Regions from separate parts of the Homo sapiens genome. Here region 2 is linked to region 1. Evidence: promoter capture Hi-C in 16 types of primary human blood cells and fetal thymus (Javierre and others, 2016). All regions are on one chromosome and are shown on one strand. Each heading gives the region's core, a stretch centred on a gene start or on the middle of the fragment in contact. The rest is flanking DNA. Distances are from core to core; before and after follow the strand shown.

Region 1 (3,764 bases), core at 691-3,190:
AAACCACCCATTATTCTTCCAGTTAGAGATAGTGACTCAAAATTTTTGCATATATATCAAGACATTTTTTCATATATATATATATATATATATATATGCATATGTCTATATTTAACAAAAGTGGTATCAGCCTCTATATGCAAATATAAGCTTGTTTTTTAAACTACAAAGTGTATCTATCCAAGTGACCAAATATATTCCCACACATAATTTTTAGTGCTTACATATATGTTTTCTACTGATGGCTTACTTAACTAAGTATTTATTGCTGAACATTAAAATTGTTTTCCATTTTTTGCTGTGACAAACTTCCTTACAGCTAAGTCTTTAAGGGCATCATCATTATTTCTGGGGAATCAGTTCCTAGAGGATCAATCGCTGAGTCAAATATTATGTACATTTTTAAGGCTTTTGATCCATATCACCACTTTCCTCTCTAGGAAGGTTGTGTCAATTTATAACGCTATATAAAAGGGCTTGTTTTCTTAATGTTTTCCAAATTTGGTCAGCCCAAGAAATCTGCCCATGAAATAAGAATTTATGTAGATGGAACAAATAGAATAATATATATATATATATTTTTTTCCGTAAGAAACCTTTCCTAAAAGCCAGGATTTTAAGAAATCCCACTTACCCACAATTAGCCTTTGGTGCAGTCAACTGATTTAGACAAGAACTTTTTAAGCCAACTTTTCAATCAAAGTCTGCCATGTTTGTGGAACTGTGGCTATTTACCATTTTACAATGACTTAATTGCAAATTAATGTATATCTTTTTTTTCTTGAGAAGATATAATAAGCTACCTTTTTAAAATGACAATCCATTTTATTTTCCTGGAGAAAAGAATCCATTTGCTTTAACCATAATCAGAGGAAGGTTATTTGGTCAAACAAAGTAAAAACCATAAACAATAGATAGCCATCATTACCACAGTAACATTGGTCCAGCTAGGAATTCACTTAGCTAAATGGGTGACTTCCTACTCACATACCTCCTCAGTGCACAACAAACACAGGAGCAAACAAAAGCCTTTACAGAATCCAGAACCACCAGGCAAGAAGATATAATAATCAAGCAATCAAGCAAAAGTTTAAAAATACTGCCTAAACTGCACCAAAAAAAAAAAAGAAAAGAAAAGAAAAGAAAATGATACTACAAGAGAGAAGTTAATGAGGCAGAAAGATATTCTCAAATATAAAACCCCCTCCAGGACTTTTAAGAAAGGTATCAGAGGCATATGGAAGGCTAAGTCCAGGATGGATTTAACTGAAGAAAAGGATATTTAGAGATTATCAACATTTTCTAATGCAACAGAAAACCAAGCCAACTTAGTCTCCTACTTAGTAAGTGCCAGCTCTATTCTTCATCTTTTTGGAGATCCAGAAAAATCAAAAAGAGAAAATATCCAAATATAGAAGCTTAATTTAACAAAATTGGAAAAACCTAAACTATACTGTGCTCTGGTGACCTAGCAATCAAATAATCACAGTCATTTGGTCAATGTCTATGATTAACTCAATGAGACAGGATGTTTGGCTATAGCACCAGGTACAAAAAATATATTTTCATGAAGGATCACTCCCTCTTATGTAATAGATTTGGGTGAGTGAGTGAGTGAGTGAGTGCATGGACTCACAGCTTTTGGCTTTCTGAAATACCCTGCATCAGTCTTGTTATGATGATTCCTTAGTGCTGGGATGGATCATCCAGGCATTTAAGGTAACACGATGGTAATTCTTTGCTCATTTTTCAGGGAAAAAAAAAAGTTATCACTTCCAAAGTCGGCATAGTCACCCGAAGTAAAAAAAAAAAAAAAAAAAAAGCCTCAGAGGCAAAGGAAAGGGGCCGCAACCTTGGTTAACTGTGAAATGACGAATGAGAAAACTCCTCCTGCTGAAGATATTCAGGTATATAAAGGCACATGAAGGAAAACTCAAAACATCATTGTCATATACACATCTTCTGGATTTTTTAGCTTGCAAAAAAAATGAGCACCAAACCTGATATGATTCAAAAGTGTTTGTGGCTTGAGATCCTTATGGGTATATTCATTGCTGGCACCCTATCCCTGGACTGTAACTTACTGAACGTTCACCTGAGAAGAGTCACCTGGCAAAATCTGAGACATCTGAGTAGTATGAGCAATTCATTTCCTGTAGAATGTCTACGAGAAAACATAGCTTTTGAGTTGCCCCAAGAGTTTCTGCAATACACCCAACCTATGAAGAGGGACATCAAGAAGGCCTTCTATGAAATGTCCCTACAGGCCTTCAACATCTTCAGCCAACACACCTTCAAATATTGGAAAGAGAGACACCTCAAACAAATCCAAATAGGACTTGATCAGCAAGCAGAGTACCTGAACCAATGCTTGGAGGAAGACAAGAATGAAAATGAAGACATGAAAGAAATGAAAGAGAATGAGATGAAACCCTCAGAAGCCAGGGTCCCCCAGCTGAGCAGCCTGGAACTGAGGAGATATTTCCACAGGATAGACAATTTCCTGAAAGAAAAGAAATACAGTGACTGTGCCTGGGAGATTGTCCGAGTGGAAATCAGAAGATGTTTGTATTACTTTTACAAATTTACAGCTCTATTCAGGAGGAAATAAGGTATATTTTTGGAATTAAAATTCCTTTTCCCTCCGAAATCTCTTTCTCCTTCTCCTCCTCCAACTTCTTTTTAAGGATTGTTGTGCTGTCCTGTAAGCCTGTCCTCAGTTGGACTGGTAGCCTCGGAACATCAGGGACACTCACCTCTCTAAGGAGAGGTAATGCCAACCATCCTCAGGGTGACCAAGAGTCTCCTTAGAAAGTCTTTAAGACATTTTTAAAGGAATAAGATTCCCTCTCCGTCTTCTTCTATTCTCTCTTGCTCTTTTCTGTGGCCATTTTGAAAGAGCTTTGCTATATATACCACCTGTGGACTTCACCAAGACAATGGCTAGAGGATAGGGAGCAGAGAATGTTGCAAAATGGTAACATTTCAATGACTTAACTGTTTTGCTGCCAAGGTTGCTTATCCTATGAAAATTCAGCACATTAAAAGAGCTTATACATGCTCCCTAGAGTCAATACTCTTGCATTTTCCCCCTCCTGCTCGGGGGGAAAAAGGTTGACATTTCTGGCCCATTTCCTTCTCAGCTTGGTTTGTTTGAATTGATGCTTGTGGAATAGTATTTCATTACTTTAAGAGTGAAGATCCATAGTGAAATTGGATGGATGGTTGAATTAGACGACCATTAAGCTTTCATTTAACCTTTGAGAGTCTGTGATTCTAATGTAGCACACTCTTCATTCCTGATGTATATTGTTTGATTCCTACATCTAAAGGCATGGAAAATGCTGTGGAAAAGTATGGTACAGAATCTGTCTTTTACTGTTTTTCATGTGCCTGAAATAAAATGTCCAGAGTCATAATATGGAACAATTTTACATTAGATTTTCCTAGTTAGAAGACTACATTCTGTGAGTTAATTTAACTAGCTATTCCAATAATACATAATACTTTAATATCTTTTATCTTTTTAAAAGTTACTTTGCAGCCAGACTACCTAGATTATTTACTTTTCTAGCACGGCCCTTCATCTATATTAATTCACCACCTAGCTGACATGGATTTTCTCTTCCTCTCGCACCTCTATCTACCCCATTTCAGAATCATCTACCTTCAAGCAAGAATTAACAGAGATTGTGGCTACGCAAATGCACCAAAAAAGGGTGAAATATATCTGAAATGTACCTGGTTCTGCCCTTGGAAGCCAT
Region 2 (3,979 bases), core at 1,084-3,583, 540 kb before region 1:
AGTGGTCAGTAGCCTGTGGTGAGCTGTTTCAGAGTTTTTCGTTTTCTGTATTTTTGACAGATGATCTATCAGGAATGAAGATATACTGCTAGTACAAAATTAATTATATCATACATGCTACTTTCTATAATACAGTATATCATCCCTTTCAAGAGACTTAAATTTTTTTTTTTTGAGACTTAAATTTTTTCATCTACATTCTAATAACATCTAAATCACTAAATATTAAAAATGAATTGATTATTTAGAAATGTTTGCTTAATGATTATCAGTACCATGAAAAAATATTTCAAAATTACATAGTCATTTAACTAGCCTTTTGAAAGTGGATGCACAGAAATATTTATATGTTTAATAGTATTTTAAAACATCGAGGGTAAAAACATATTAAAATTCTATAGTAAATTTATCAAATGTTTATTTCTGTATTAATTTATCCTTCAAAACAGAACCAATATAATTTAAGATTGTTAGTCTCTACAAGTATACTTCAAAGCCTTTTAAGAGAGAATTCGGAACATTACCACTACACAGAACTGTCTACTGTGACTTTCATTCTTACCTTCTCTAGTGCCCCATTTCCCAGTATAATAAGATACTACCTCTACTTCTCAGCATAGACCTTATAGTTAATACACCTAGTTTTACCTCTCATACTTTGCAGGGCACTTCATCTCTTACAAGGTTTGAGACATTTAACCTAGGAACACTTTCTTTTTTTTTTTTTTTTTTTTTTTTTTTGAGATGGGGTCTTTCTCTGTCGCCCAGGCTGGAGTGCAGTGATGTGATCTTGGCTCACTGCAACCTCCGCATCCCAGATTCAAGCAATTCTCCTGCCTCAGCCTCCTGAGTAGCTGGGCTTACAGGCACATGCCACAATGCCCAGCTAATTTTTTTGTATTTTTAGTAGAGATGGGGTTTCACCATATTGGCCAGGCTGGTCTTGAACTTCTGACCTCAAGGGATCCTCCCACCTCAGCCTCCCAAAGTGCTGGGATTACAGGTGTGAGCCACCGTGCCCGGCCAGGAATACTTTCTTAGTTCTACTGAAATGTAAGACCATTTCTTAAAAAGTCTCTGAGACAAATGATAAAAAATCATAGTCACTTTCTCACATTGAGTAATGTCTGCAGTGTCCAGTATGACAGCCAGTAGTCAGAAATTTAAATTAGTTCCCCAGTAGCACCAGCCAAATTTTAAGTGCTTCTGTAGTCCCTCTGTCCACTTTATTGGACAGTGTTAATTTAGAATATTTCTGTCACTGCAGAAAGTTACTCTGGACAGCTCTGTTCCAGATTCCCTTAGACTCAATTTTCATTCCATCGTCCTGTTCTGTAGAGTCTACTGTCTTTTAACAGCCCCACCTCTAGTCCCATCTTCGTAGTTTTAATTGAAGCTTCCCTTATGTTGTGATTCTAAGGTATTAGTTCTCTTTTCAGTTTCAGTGATTCTTCTTGATTCATTGGGGCATTCATGAAGACTGTCTTGAGAATTGTGGAGTGTAATTCTGATTGTGCTTTGGATTTGCTATTCTGGTGGCATTTCGAACTGAACACTAACACTTAAAACATTTTTTTTTAGGTCCCCAGAGGCAAATTTTAGACAAATCTTACTATCTTGGGCTTCTTAGGTATGTTAAACATATCTTTTCATCCGTATGTTTTACTCGAAATATTGTGTACCTTCTGTCAAAATAGAGTATATAACTTTAATATGAAGTTTTAGCTAGGCACTTATTAGGATAATTAGGTATCTATTGATTTCTAAAAATTATTTTGTATTCTAACAATTTCTGGTTAATTTGGCTATGCTGTAAAATAAATGTGATAGTATAATTAGTCTGAGATTTATAGTTTTATGAATTTGCATGTACATGAGCTATATTTTCCCTCAGTTTGTTTGTGCTGCTATAATAAAATACCTGAGATTGGGTAACTTATAGGAATTTATTTCTTACTGTTCCGGAGACGCAGAAGTCCAAGATCAAGGTGCCAGCAGCTTCAGTGTCTGGTGGGCACCTGTTTCTCACAGATAGTGCCGTCAAGGTGTCCTCATGGCAGAAGAGTGGAAGGGCAAAAGGTGCTGAGCTAGTTTCCTTCAACCCTTTTCTAAGGCACTAATCCCATCCATGAGGGCAGAGTCGTCATGTCCTGATTACTTCTTAAAGTCCCTACCTCTTAATACTATTGCATTAGAGATTAAGTTTTGATATGAATTTCAGAGGGACTCAAACATTCAAACCATAGCAAACTTATTTTATTTTATTTATATTTTAGAGACAGAGTCTCACTCTGTTGCCCAGGCTGGAGTGCAGTGGCATGATCACAGCTCACTGCAACCTTGAACTCCTGGGTTGAAGTGATCCTCCTGCCTCAGCTTCCCAAAGTGCTGGGATTATAGGCATAAGCTACCACCACACCTGGCCTCATAGCATTTTTTTTTTGAGACAGAGTCTTGTTCTGTGGCTCAGGCTGGAGTGCAGTGGCATGATCTCGGTTGACTGCAACCTCTGTCTCCCAGGTTTAAGCAATTCTCCTGCATCAGCTTCCCAAGTAGCTGGGATTACAGGCGTTTGCCACCACACCCACCTAATTTTGTGTGTGTGTTTTTAGTAGAGGTGGCATTTCACCATGTCAGCCAGGCTTGTCTCGAACTCCTGACCTCAAATGATCTGCCCATCTCGGCCTTCCAAAGTGCTGGGATTACAGGCATGAGCCACCGCGCCCAACCCCTTGTAGCATTTTAAAAGTTCACTTTTTTCATCTAATGATAAGAATAATTTTTTTTTTTTTTTTTGAGATAGAGTCTCACTCTGTCGCCCAGGCTGGAGTGCAGTGGTGTGATCTCAGCTCACTGCAACCCCTGCCTTCCGGGTTTAAGCTATTCTCCTGCCTCAGCCTCGTGAGTAGCTGGGACTGCAGGTATGCGCCACCATGCCTGGCTAATTTTTGTATTTTTTAGTAGAGGTGGGCTTTCACCATATTGGCCAGGCTGGTCTTAAACTCCTGACCTCAGGTGATGCACCTGCCTCAGCCTCCCAAAGTGCTGAAATTATAGGCTGAGCCACCGCACCTGGCCAAGAATAATCTTCTATGTTTTTTTTCAGTAATTAATCTGAAACGTGTTACTCATATCATTAAAATGTTACCAGCTACATCTAATAAGAAAGGGAAAATATGTATACTTATTTATGTTATATTAATCAGTAAGTTTTACATAAGTATGTATTTGGTCAGTTGCTACCAATGTGGCCTAATTTTAATTAATTCATAAGCTTTTTTTCTTTTTTTTTTGAGACGGAGTTTTGCTTGTCACCCAAGCTGGAGTGCAATGATGGGATCTCACGTCACTGCAACTTCCACCGCCTGGATTCAAGTGATTCTCTTGCCTCAGCCTCGTGCCTGTAATCTGCAAGTAGCTGGGATTACGGGTGCCTGCCACCACACTTGGCTAATTTTTGTATTTTTTTTTTTTTTTTTTTTTTGAGACAGAGTTTTGCTCTTGTTGCCCAGGCTGGAGTGCAATGGCCTGATCTCTGGCACCGCAACCTCCGCCTCCCGGGTTCAAGTGATTCTCCTGCCTCAGCCTCCCGAGTAGCTGGGATTACAGGTGTGCACCACCATGCCCAGCTAATTTTGTATTTTTAGTTCAGACGAGGTTTCTCAATGTTGGTCAGGCTGGTCTCGAACTCCCAACCTCAGGTGATCTGCCCACCTTGGCCTCTTAGAGTGCTGGGATTACAGGTGTGAGCCACTGCACCTGGCCTAATTTTTGTATTTTTAGTAGAGATGGGGGTTTCACCATTTTGGCCAGGCTAGTCTTGAACTCCTGACCTCAGGTAATGCACCTGCCTATGCCTTTCAAAGTGCTGGGATTACAGGCGTGAGCTGCCGCACTCGGCCTCATAAACTTTTGTTATATGTCTCTGGGGATGCATCTCTAAATCAATGACTTTTTCTTATTCTTACTATTTTCCCAC

The links. Contacts are between HindIII fragments. The CHiCAGO score rates a contact against its expected background, and 5 or more counts as called.
Region 2: a contact is called between a fragment that was not itself captured here and the fragment with the promoter of IFNK in region 1, in 1 of 17 cell types (activated CD4 T cells). The highest score is 5.1, in activated CD4 T cells.

Annotation. Positions count from the first base shown.
Region 1 is chr9:27,522,350-27,526,113 of GRCh38, forward strand. IFNK (interferon kappa) reads left to right here and starts at 1,941. Exons shown (of 2, transcript NM_020124.3): 1 at 1,941-2,612; 2 at 3,658-3,764. The coding sequence starts at 1,988. The coding sequence ends at 2,611. All of the region lies in intron 1 of MOB3B (MOB kinase activator 3B), which reads right to left. The HindIII fragment of the contact is 1,828 bases long and covers 1,417-3,244 here.
Region 2 is chr9:26,978,990-26,982,968 of GRCh38, forward strand. It overlaps IFT74 (intraflagellar transport 74), which reads left to right. Exons shown (of 20, transcript NM_025103.4): 4 at 1,582-1,630. Among named protein-coding and RNA genes, the nearest start is that of IFT74, 25 kb to the left of the region's middle. The HindIII fragment of the contact is 1,878 bases long and covers 1,395-3,272 here.